Linked DNA regions of Homo sapiens: regions 2 and 3 are each linked to region 1. Evidence: promoter capture Hi-C in human tissues and cell types (Jung and others, 2019). All regions are on one chromosome and are shown on one strand. The core of a region is centred on a gene start or on the middle of the fragment in contact, and the rest is flanking DNA. Distances in the headings are between cores, read along the strand shown. Region 1 holds the start of ASIC3 (acid sensing ion channel subunit 3). Region 2 overlaps NUB1 (negative regulator of ubiquitin like proteins 1). Region 3 has its middle 18 kb from the start of NUB1.

Region 1 (3,757 bases), core at 542-3,041:
ATTGATGGAGCAGCTGGTGCTGCTGGGAGGCCAGCCTGGAAGAGGCAGCAGTGGCTCAAGTTTGCGTGCAGGAGCCAGAGTGGGACCCACGGGCTCTTGTGGGTGTGGTTTAGAACTAGATGGTGCTTTGGGGACAAGCCATCCAAAAACCCCAGGCCCACATCCACCCTGATTTGATATCCCACTTCCTGACAGATCAGAGGCTGTGTCTTTAAGCAGTGGAGGTCCAGGAGCAGAGCCTGGGGCTGGTTCACAGCTAAACCCCTCCTTAGGGCAGCCCAGAGTAGGGCCTCAGCTGGCAAGTCCACAAGCCCTGCTGGGGCCCTGCTTGTTGGCCTGACCCCTCCCTCACCAGGCAGCCAGCCAAGGTGGTTCCTGCTTCACCCACTCAGTCATCAGCCTCAGGCTGCCCAAAATGCCTCTGACACCAGATTTATATCTTCTGGGCGGCTTCTTTAAATCCAGCCCTTCACCCGCCCCCTAGAGAAGCAGTGAAACCCCTTGGCTAGTCCAGCTGGAAGAGCTAGACCGCAGGAGCCGCGCCGTCTTCCTAACCTCGCCTCGGCCTTCGCTCCACAGTGGAGAGTGGGAGCCTAGCTGTGCTTGATGCTGAATGCCTGTTTTGAGAGTGTGAGTGGGATCATCTACAGTAAATACTTGCAAAGCATGGCACTGTGGCTCTGGGGAGCTGGTACGCCTGTGCTGTAACCATGGTACTCAGTCCTTCCAAAGTGTTTATTAATCAAGCACCTGTCATGTGCCATTGAGCCCACGATGGGGAATGAGGACAGTCCCTGCCCCCATGAAGCTTGTGTCCTGTTGGGAGGACAGACAGGTGGCCCAGCAGTTGCAGCATGGTGTGTGCACACGTTTGGCTGGTGGAACCATGTTTCTACCACTCATGGTCAAAAAAAGCCCACCAAAGTCCTGGGAGTTCACATCTGTGTGATGATACGGCAACATTGTTTGTAATGGAAAGACTGGACACCCCCAGTGCCCATCAGTGGGGGAGTCATTAAATAAACTATGGTATGTGCACATAATGGGTGGTATGCAGCCCTTTGGAAAAATGTAGGTTTTCCAGGTCCTGGATATAGCAGCGTAAGATGGGAAATCACAGAATACCCATGTTGTGCCTGAGATGGCAGGTGGGGTACCCGTGGTACCCGGGAGGGTGGCAGGTGGGGCACCCATGTTCTACCTGGGGTGGCAGGTGAGCCCATAACCATTGTAGAGGCCAACATCCTCAGAGGCCTGAGTGTGGGGAGGTAGGCTTTGACTCCCTAGGGAGAGAGGGACACTTAGGAAACAGACGGGCCCTGGAAGTGGGACATGAAGAGTGCCCTGGCCATCCAGTGTAGGCTGAGATGCTAGGGGCACAGAAAGAAGAGATCTGCTGATGCCAGCCTTCCAACCATTTCCCAGCTTGGCCAAGAGCCAGCTCTGGTATTCGTGAAGGAACAGATCCTGGGTGAAGCTAGAGGGAAGGCCGCAGAGGCAAAAGGAGAGAGGAGCTAGGCCAGGGGTCAGCGACTGACCCTCGCGGCCAGTGTACAGGGGTTGCAACTGGGAGCCTAGGGGGCCCCAAGGCATCTCCAGGCCCAATCTACCTCTGGGCTTTTCTCAAGCTCTCCCTAGGATTACTGCGGTTTCCTCCTGGCGCCTCTCGTCTTGGACAGCCATGCCCCCCTCCATGCTGCACTAATGGCTCAGCCTGGGGCCCTAGGGACCTCTCCTACCCCCCAGACTGCTCTGTCGGCCCCCTTTCCCCCCTACTGCTGAAACCCAATCCTCTGCAGCAGCGCCGGCTCAGCACCGCCGGCTCAGCACCGCTCCGCAGCCCCTGCCTGCCACGGTCAGCTACGTCCCACCTGGTCTGCTGCGGAGTCCCCAGCCCAGTGCCTAGCCCAGTGGAGCCACCGCCTGTTCCTCGGGAAGGAACAGTGGGACCTGACCGGCCAGATCACCTCCTCCAATCCTGCCAGGCTAGTGCCTCCCTGCCTTCCAACCTTGGCTGTCTCCCACCCTCTCTTCTCCTCTCCTTGCCTGGCCTCCTGAATCCTATCTTAGCCTCCTTAGCCCCCTGACTGACTCTCTCTCGCTTCTTCCAAGCCTCTGTAGCTGGTTCCGCTCCTGGGTTCTGGCCATGAAGCCCACCTCAGGCCCAGAGGAGGCCCGGCGGCCAGCCTCGGACATCCGCGTGTTCGCCAGCAACTGCTCGATGCACGGGCTGGGCCACGTCTTCGGGCCAGGCAGCCTGAGCCTGCGCCGGGGGATGTGGGCAGCGGCCGTGGTCCTGTCAGTGGCCACCTTCCTCTACCAGGTGGCTGAGAGGGTGCGCTACTACAGGGAGTTCCACCACCAGACTGCCCTGGATGAGCGAGAAAGCCACCGGCTCATCTTCCCGGCTGTCACCCTGTGCAACATCAACCCACTGCGCCGCTCGCGCCTAACGCCCAACGACCTGCACTGGGCTGGGTCTGCGCTGCTGGGCCTGGATCCCGCAGAGCACGCCGCCTTCCTGCGCGCCCTGGGCCGGCCCCCTGCACCGCCCGGCTTCATGCCCAGTCCCACCTTTGACATGGCGCAACTCTATGCCCGTGCTGGGCACTCCCTGGATGACATGCTGCTGGACTGTCGCTTCCGTGGCCAACCTTGTGGGCCTGAGAACTTCACCACGGTGAGCTGACCTCCCTACCTATCCTGCCAGGGACCCAGAGAGCCGACCAGTCCCTGCCCAGCACCCACAATTCCCTAGCCAGCACAGGCTCCCCCAAAGCCAGGGGACCTCTTCCTTCCTACCAGCCATGGACTCCCCACCCCCCAGTGCCACTCCGTGCAGCCCAGGAAGCTGTCCTCCTTGGGGCTTTCTCTGTCTCCCAGCCCGAGGGGAGCATGTGAGGCCACACTGACCCCGGCTGGCCCTAGGCCTGAGGTCTGGCCCAGGGAGGCCCTGCTCCTGGGGCTGGGGGTCCTCCATGGTGGGACCATTCTGGGGCAGAAGACCCCTATCTCTGCCAGGAGGTGGGGGGGGCTTGCTTTCCCTCTGCCTTTTCAACATACTGCCAGCCCCGGAGGACAGCCACAGGGGCCCATTTCCTTTTCCTGCAGTTCCCAGAGAAACACAGAAAAACCTGTAGGCTGTGCCCTGGGCTTTGGTGGGGATTGGCGGGGTGGAGGAGCTGAGTTGATGGGCTCCCAAGAGCGTCCTGCAACATGTGCCCACTGGAGCGTGGGGCTGGGGGCATTGAGATGCGGGCTTCAGTATTCAAAGAAGAGACGCAAACATACCATGAGGTGGGGAGAGGTCCCATGACCATGTGCCTGCCTGGGGGAGATGGCCATCACCCTGTCTGCCCGCCCCAGATCTTCACCCGGATGGGAAAGTGCTACACATTTAACTCTGGCGCTGATGGGGCAGAGCTGCTCACCACTACTAGGGGTGGCATGGGCAATGGGCTGGACATCATGCTGGACGTGCAGCAGGAGGAATATCTACCTGTGTGGAGGGACAATGGTAGGGAGCACACAAATGAGGCTGGGGGAGGGCACGGATGGAGTGCAAAAGGCTAGGGGAAGGAGAGGAGGAGAGGAGGTGTCAGGGTGTTCCCCCAGAACCTGTGAAAGGGGCTGGGCTGGCTCATCCCAGTCCTGGGGAGAGGGGCTGCAGTGAGAGGTCTTGTCTGGTTGGGCAGGAGACCTGACCACACAGGTCAGGCCTCACAGGTCCCTCCCCGACAGAGGAGACCCCGTTTGA
Region 2 (3,757 bases), core at 858-3,357, 310 kb after region 1:
GATGGGGTCTCCCTGTGTTGCTCAGGCTGATCTTGAACTCCTGGACTCATGTGATCCTCCTGCCTTGGCCTCCCAAAGTGCTGGGATTACAGGTGTGAGCCACCGCACCCAGCCTCCCTTCTGCATTTATTGCTGGAATTCTGAAAAATTTGTTTTTGCTCATCAGTTATTTTATATGTGGAGGTACAATTTGTATAGGAAAGTTAGAATAAAATACTTTGTTTCTTTCTCCTTATTTTCTTGTTTTCAGAATAAATGAGTTGCTTCACTATCACCCTCCAAAGGTGACCAAAGAGGTTTCTTTTTCTTTTCATTTTCTTAAGTGTCATTATTAACTCATGGATTTAAAACATTTGATGTGTTTCAAACTTCAGTGCTTAAATTGGTCATGCTGGCTGGCAGGCAGCCCATGTTTTTTTGACCTGACCCTGCTAGTCTTTGCAGTCTCTGATTTCTGGAATCCAAAGATACTCCAGGCTCATCTTGGGCATTTAATGCCCAGACCAGGAATCAGCAATTTCCCAAGGAGTCCTGGTTCCTCTTCATGGGAAACGGTACTAAGAGACTATGATGCAGACATATTCAACATTTGAAAAGTAGACTTGATTTTTTGAAAATGGTCAAAAGTTAACAAATTTAGTGTTAACTTCTTTTCTGTTTTGGTGCATTCCCAAGATAATACTGTATACTCCCAGAAGATGAATGCAAATATTTATAGTTTTCCATTGGTCAGTGCCTTTGGGTTCTAAGTGAACAAGTCCCAACTTTAACGTACACAAAAAAGGAATTGGGAGGGGAGGGGCCGGGCTGGGAATAGTGAGAATGAGGGCTGGTTTGTGCTTCTGGGGTCTCTGTCTCTGCCTCTTTCTGGATGTCAGTTTCATTCTCTTCTGCAAACAGTGTAGGGTAAACAGGCTTTAAATTAGGTCCTAAAAGTTTAGGTAAATTTTTCATTCCCTTCCATAGTTGTTTCTAATTTTTTATTATGGAAAATTTCAAATAGTCATAAAAATAAAAATTAGTATAATGAGCTTCCATATACACTCATAACTAAGCTTCTGCAGTTATAAAGACATGGTTGATCTTCATACATCTGTGTGAGCCTCCCTCAATCTTTTTATCCTGGACAAATCCTTGAAATAATTTTTAGGTCTCAGGGAACCATTGAATACAAATTTGGCTACATCTTCAGTTCATGATACATTAACATGTCCGGTAAGTGGTAGGTATAATAATGAAATAATAATTAACAATGTCTTTCTAAGTAGAGAAAGTTTTTTTTTTCCTGGGCATCTATTTATCCTGGGCATCTATTTATCCTGGCCAACTTGTTAGCATATTTTTGTGTGTGTGTGATTTCTCTCTTTTCATAAAGGAAATCAGCAGTAATGTAAGCCAAATAGAATGCAGATGGAGGAAACTTCAGTTTTTCCATTTCCTTTTCCATTTGACTTTTCCCCCTTACTTCTCCAAGTAAGCTAGAAGTTTTGTCACAACTTCCTACCATATGTCTTGGAGTATGGTATGTAGTATGACCAAGAATAGTTTCTTTCCCCAAATTGTATGAAACAGTGACTTCCTGGCAGTGCAGAACGGTGACCCTGAGGTAGGGAAACATGAGGGGAGCTCAGTGTCTGGAGAAGTTTCAGGTTACGGGGCAGGGAGGGCAAACCCAGGCAGAGCCTTGTGCTCCCTGGAGTTAAAGAGATGGAGCTGGGCTTGCAGGAGGCCAAGGAGGTGAGAGGAGCAAGCTGCCAGAGAGAGGGTGTCAGAGAGCTTCAGAGGAGCCCTTTTGAGTCTTCTGCTCAGTAATGATCAGCACATGTGTGTGAGGAAACCGCCCAGGGCTGGGCAAGGTACCACATGAAAGAAGCAGGGAATAATCCTCCGAGTTCATAGAAGGCCAGGAATAGTTTATGTTCCCACCAGCCAGAGTGGAGGATTTGGTAGTCACAGGGCGTCAAATAGAGTCTTCAGAAGGGTGTTGCCTCAGCACTAGGGCATAATTTGGTTTCACTTAACAAAGCTTAAAAGCTACTCCTGAACAGTACCCTTAACTTACCGTTTTCAAATAAGTGCATCCCTAACAAAACTCAATAATTTAGCAATTCAAAAATATCCAGCATCCACTGAAAAATTAGCAGGCATGCAAAGAAACAAGCAAATGTAACCTATAACAAGCAAAAAAATCAGTCAGTAGCAACAGATCCAGAAGTGACACAGAAGATAGAATTAGTAGACAAGGACATTAAAACAGTGACTGTAATCCATCTGCTGAAGAAGGCAGAGGAACAACTGAACATGTCAGATAAAGACATGGGAGACATTCAAAAGACCCACATTAGAATGTAAGAGATGAAAAGTACAACATCCAAGATGAAAAGTACATTAGGTGGGATGAACTGCAGAATAGACACTATAGAAGAGAAGATTAGTTAAATGTTACATAAGGCAATAGAAACTATCTGAAAAAACAGAGAAAAGGCTAAAAAAAAAAAAAAATGAACAGAGCATCTGCAAGCTGTGGCACAATTTCAGGCGGCCTAAAATGCATGTAATTGGAGTCCCTGGAAAGGCAGACATGTGGGACAGAAACAATACTTGAAGAAAAAAATGGCCATTAATTTTTCCCAGTTTGATGAAAACTATAAACCCCCAGATGCAATGACTTTAATGACCCCAAGTACAAGAAATATCAGAAAAAAACTACACTACAGCACACTATAATCCAATTCCCTAAAACCAGTAATAAAATTGAAAATGACTTTTTAGCTAACCTTTCTTGAAAAAAGTTAGGTAAGTTTGGCTTATTTTTTTATTTTATTTTTTCAGACGGAGTCTCACTCTGTCGCCCAGGCTGTAGTGCAGTGACGCAATCTTAGTTTACTGCAATCTCCGCCCACTGTAACCTCTGCCTCCTGGGTTCAAGCGATTCTCCTGCCTCAGCCTCTCAAGTAGCTGGGATTACAGGTGCCCACTACCACTCCCGACTAGTTTTTGTATTTTTAGTAGAGACGGGGTTTCACTATGTTGGCCAGGATGGTCTTGAACTCCTGACGTCAGGTGATCCGTCCGCCTCAGCCTCCCAAAGTGCTGGGATTACAGGTGTGAGCCACCGCGCCTGGCCTAAAATTTTTATGTTAAATAAATATTAATTTCAAGAAAGGTAAGCCTGGCCGGGCGCGGTGGCTCACGCCTGTAATCCCAACACTATGGGAGGCCGAGGCAGGCAGATCACGAGGTCAGGAGATCAGACCATCCTGGCTAACAGGGCGAAACCCCGTCTCTACTAAAAATACAAAAAATTAGCCGGGCATGGTGGCAGGCGCCTGTAGTCCCAGCTACTTGAGAGGCTGAGGCAGGAGAATGGCAGGAACCCGGGAGGCGAAGCTTGCAGTGAGCCGAGATTGCACCACTGCACTCCAGCCTGGAGGAGAGAGCGAGACTCCGTCTCAAAAACAAAAACAAAAAAAAACAAAAAAAAAAACAAAAAAACTGTAAGACAAACATAATAAATTTCTGTTAAATAACCGACTTAAGCTCAAATGGGATTTAATTTTTGTTGTTGTTGTTTTTGAGACGGAGTCTCGCTCTGTCGCCCACGCTGGAGTGCAATGGCACGATCTCGGCTCACTGCAACCTCCGCCTCCTGGGTTCAAGCAATTCTCCCACCTCAGCCTCCCGAGTAGCTGGGATTACAGGCACCCGCCATCATGCCCCGCTAATTTTTGTAGAAATGGGGTTTCACCATGTTGGC
Region 3 (3,757 bases), core at 403-2,902, 270 kb after region 1:
TGCTGAGAGCTGGGAAGACAATGGGATGACCTACCTGTAGAGAGGAGCAACCCACTCTAGGGCCTCCTCTCTGCTGAGAGCTGCAGAAACGATGGGACAACCTGTCTGCAGAGAGGAGCTTCTCACTCCAGAGTCTCCTCTCTGCTAGGAGCTGAACACTCATTGGGACACCCTGGCTGTGGAAAGGAGCTGCCCACTGTGGGAGGCTGGGCTGTTCTATTGCTCAATAAAGCTCCTCTCATTTTGCTTACCCTCCACTTGTTGGTGTACCTCATTCTTCTGGTCACAGGACAAGTACTTAGGACCCATTGTATGGCAGGGCTAAAAGAGCTCTAACACAAACAAGACTGAAATATGCCCCTTGCTCGCCACATTGTGGGCGAAAAGGAGAGAAGAGCTGCGGACCTTCAGGGAGCCCAGACCTGTGACTCCCTCTTTGGGGCCCTGTGGTTCCTGGCATCTCCAAGCTTCTAGGTGCCACTTCATTCCCCAGTGCCAGCCAGGGAAGCTGCTTACAGGGCCCCTGGTCCAGCTGCAGCTTTGCAGAGAGCCAGTGCCCATGCCAGCGCCTGGAGCTGCCCATCCTGTGGCAGCAGCCAGCATATCTGACTGTGCAGTGTCCGGACCCCATACTCACTCATACACCCCTTGCCGCTCCACACCTGACTTGCAGTCTTCTTGGAGGCATGGGATCCAGGCTGCTGGCATGAGCTGAGTGCAGCCGGTCAGGCCGAGTGGGCAGAAAGAGCCCCGTGGGCTTGAGCAAAACTCAGCCAAAGGTGCCATGAGCCACAGGTTTCCGACCAGAAAAGCGACACCTCAAGGATCCCATACACGATCAAGAGCTTATGGAATGAACCCAGGTGTGAAATGACAAACTGGATTTGACTGTAGACAGAGCAAAAAGAGAGAGAGCAAAACACCAAGAACTGTGCAATGGAAACGTGGTCAGGACTTCAGGGTTGATACATGTAGAGGATGAATAGGGGAACTGGTTCAGTGCAACGCAACTGATAATAGTGGGCCCTGGATACCGGAGAAGTCTGAAGTGCCCTCTGCTTTCTAAGGGACATGTTAATCAGCATATGTTCAGTGGAGTTTCAGTTATTAAGTGTAACTTATCTCCTTTCTTTGAAAATTGCTAGGCCTTGTGTACTGAAGAGGAGGAGGCTTTACTGAGGGAATGACAAGGTGCTCCCTCAAGCAGATCCAATTCTATTTCCAAAATATGTTGTGCAAACTCAATAGAAATGAAAATATTACTAATTATCTAGAAATTTTCCATCCCACACTCACCATTACCTCCCCCAGTCCCTGGCACCACTAATCTACTTTCTGTTTCTATGGATTTGCCTAGCCTGAACATTGCATAAGAATGGAATTATATAAAATGTGGTCTCTTTTGGTTGGCTTCTTCTACTGTTTTAAAGGTTAATTCATGTTGTAATGTGTCAGTACTTCATACCTTTTTATTGCCAAACAATATTCCATTGTATGGAAAAGAATAATGGAGTAATATTCCATTATATGGAATTTCAGTGGAGTAATATTCCATTACATGGAATATTATTGCATTCTATTAATCAGTTAATGAGCATTTGGATAGTTTTCACTTTTTAACTATTATGAATAATGCTGCCGTGAACATTAGTGTATAAGTTTTTGTGTTAGAACATAAGTTTTCAATTCTCTGGGGCATATGACTACGAGTGGAATTGGTGGGTCATATGGTAACTCTAAGTTTAACCTTTGGAAGAAACGCCAAACTGTTTTTCATAGCAGCTGTATCATTTTGTTCTTACCAGCAATGTTTAAGGATTCTGATTTCTCCAAATTTTCACCTACGCCTTTCCTTTTTATTCTGACCATTCTAAGGAGTGCAAAATGTTATTTCATTGTGATTTTGATTCCCAATTTCTTAATGGCTAATGATGTTGAGCATCTTTTTATGTGCTTGTTGGCCATTGTCTTCTATAGAGAAATGTCTATTCAGATCCTTTGAATATTAAAAAAGTTGGGTTGTCTTTTTATTATTTGATCTTCATTTTTATTTTTGAGATGGAGTTTCACTCTTGTCGACCAGGCTGGAGTGCAATGGCACGATCTAAACTCACTGCAACCTCCACTTCCCAGGTTCAAGCAATTCTCCTACTTCAGCCTCCTGAGCAGCTGGGATTACAGGTGCATCCCACCACACCTAGCTAATTTTTGTATTATTAGTAGAGACGGGGTTGCACTATGTTGCCCAGGCTGGTCTCGAACTCCTGACCTCAGGTGATCCACCTGCCTCAGCCTCCCAAAGTGCTGGGATTACAGGCATGAGCCACTGCACCCAGCCTATTTGATCTTTAGAGTTCTTTGTATATTCTGGATCTAAGTCCCTGCTAAGATACATGATTTGCAAATATTTTTTCCCATAGAGCGAATTGTCTTCACATTTTTTTTTGAGACAGGGTCTTGCTCTGTGCCTAGGCTGGAGTGCAGTGGCATAATCATGGCTCACAGCAGCCTCAACCTCCTGGGTTTAAGCAATCCTCCCACTTCAGCCTCCAAGGTAGCTGGGAGTACAGGCATACACCACCACAGCTGGCTAATTTTTGTATTTTTTTGTAGAGATGGGATCTCACTATGTTGCTCAAGCTCGTCTCAAACTCCTGGGCTCAAGTGATCCTCTCACCTCAGCCTCTCAAAGTGTTGGAATCACAGGCATGAGCCACAGCATGCAGCCTGTGTTCTCATTTTCTTGATGATGTCTTTAGAAGCACAAAAGTTTTAAATTTTGATAAAGTCCAACTTGCCTAATTTTTCTTTTGTCATTTGTACTTTTGGTGCCGTAGCTAAGAAACTATTTCCTTACCCAAGATCATGAAGATTTACTCATTTGTTTTCTTCTAAGAGTTTTATAGTTTTAACTCTTTTATTTAGTTCTATAATCCATCTTGAGTTAATTTTTTATATATGATATGAGGTAGGGTTCAACTTCAATCTTTTGCATATGGCTATCCAGGTAGCCCAGAACCATTTGTTGGAAAGATGGTTCTTTCCTTTATTGAACTGTGTTGGCAACTTTGTTGAAAATCAATTGACCATAAATGTGAAGGTTTATTTCAATTCTCTTCCATTTCTCTGTATCCCTATTCTAACACCAGTCTGGTACTGTATTGATTAATGTAGCTTTGCAGTAAATTTTGAACTTGGGAAGTGTCCTTTTTCAAGATTCTTTTGTTCTTTGTTCCTTTACAAGATTGTTCTGACTATTCTGAGTCTGTTGCATTTCCATATGGATTTTAGGATCAGCCTGTCAATTTCTCTGAAAAAGGCAGCTGGTATTTTGATAGAGATTGCATTGCATCTATATGTATTTTCATTCTTCTTACCTCAGCCAAAGCTATGTATAACTGAAATCTCTTACTTAATTCATCTTGCCTACTGTTCCTCTTCTACAAAAAATTTTACAGTTCAGATAAATTGGTTTACTCACATTCCAGCAAATAAAGCTTACATTTTCAATTCAACAACTTCTATTTATTGTCTACCATGTAAGGCACATGAGGTCATTTTGAGGAACAAATTGGAGGATGGAAGGAAGGCAAAGAGATTTTTAAAAAATCCTATTCCCTGGAAATCCAATTCCCTGGAGAAAAGGTTTCCAAATTCCTTTAGAACAAGTCAACTTATTTCAGAGCCAGAGATTATGGGAAAAATTAAACATTGATCATTTTAAGTGTTGGTGAGGATTTGGGGAAATGGAAATTCT

The links. The method cuts DNA at HindIII sites, captures the fragments that hold promoters and counts their contacts. A contact is called where the count stands out against the background at its distance.
Region 2: a fragment that was not itself captured here is called in contact with the fragment with the promoter of ASIC3 in region 1 in 1 of the 25 tissues and cell types used here (neural progenitor cells).
Region 3: a fragment that was not itself captured here is called in contact with the fragment with the promoter of ASIC3 in region 1 in 3 of the 25 tissues and cell types used here (adrenal gland, bladder and pancreas).

Annotation. Positions count from the first base shown.
Region 1 is chr7:151,046,740-151,050,496 of GRCh38, forward strand. ASIC3 (acid sensing ion channel subunit 3) reads left to right here and starts at 1,792. Exons shown (of 11, transcript NM_004769.4): 1 at 1,792-2,680; 2 at 3,367-3,517; 3 at 3,742-3,757. The coding sequence starts at 2,147. It overlaps ABCB8 (ATP binding cassette subfamily B member 8), which reads left to right. Exons shown (of 16, transcript NM_007188.5): 16 at 1-1,043. RefSeq lists an enhancer at 3,304-3,757. The HindIII fragment of the contact is 19,092 bases long and covers 1-3,757 here.
Region 2 is chr7:151,360,967-151,364,723 of GRCh38, forward strand. The region is part of intron 8 of NUB1 (negative regulator of ubiquitin like proteins 1); the gene reads left to right. Among named protein-coding and RNA genes, the nearest start is that of NUB1, 21 kb to the left of the region's middle. The HindIII fragment of the contact is 4,144 bases long and covers 36-3,757 here.
Region 3 is chr7:151,321,765-151,325,521 of GRCh38, forward strand. No RefSeq gene overlaps it. Among named protein-coding and RNA genes, the nearest start is that of NUB1, 18 kb to the right of the region's middle. The HindIII fragment of the contact is 5,298 bases long and covers 1-3,757 here.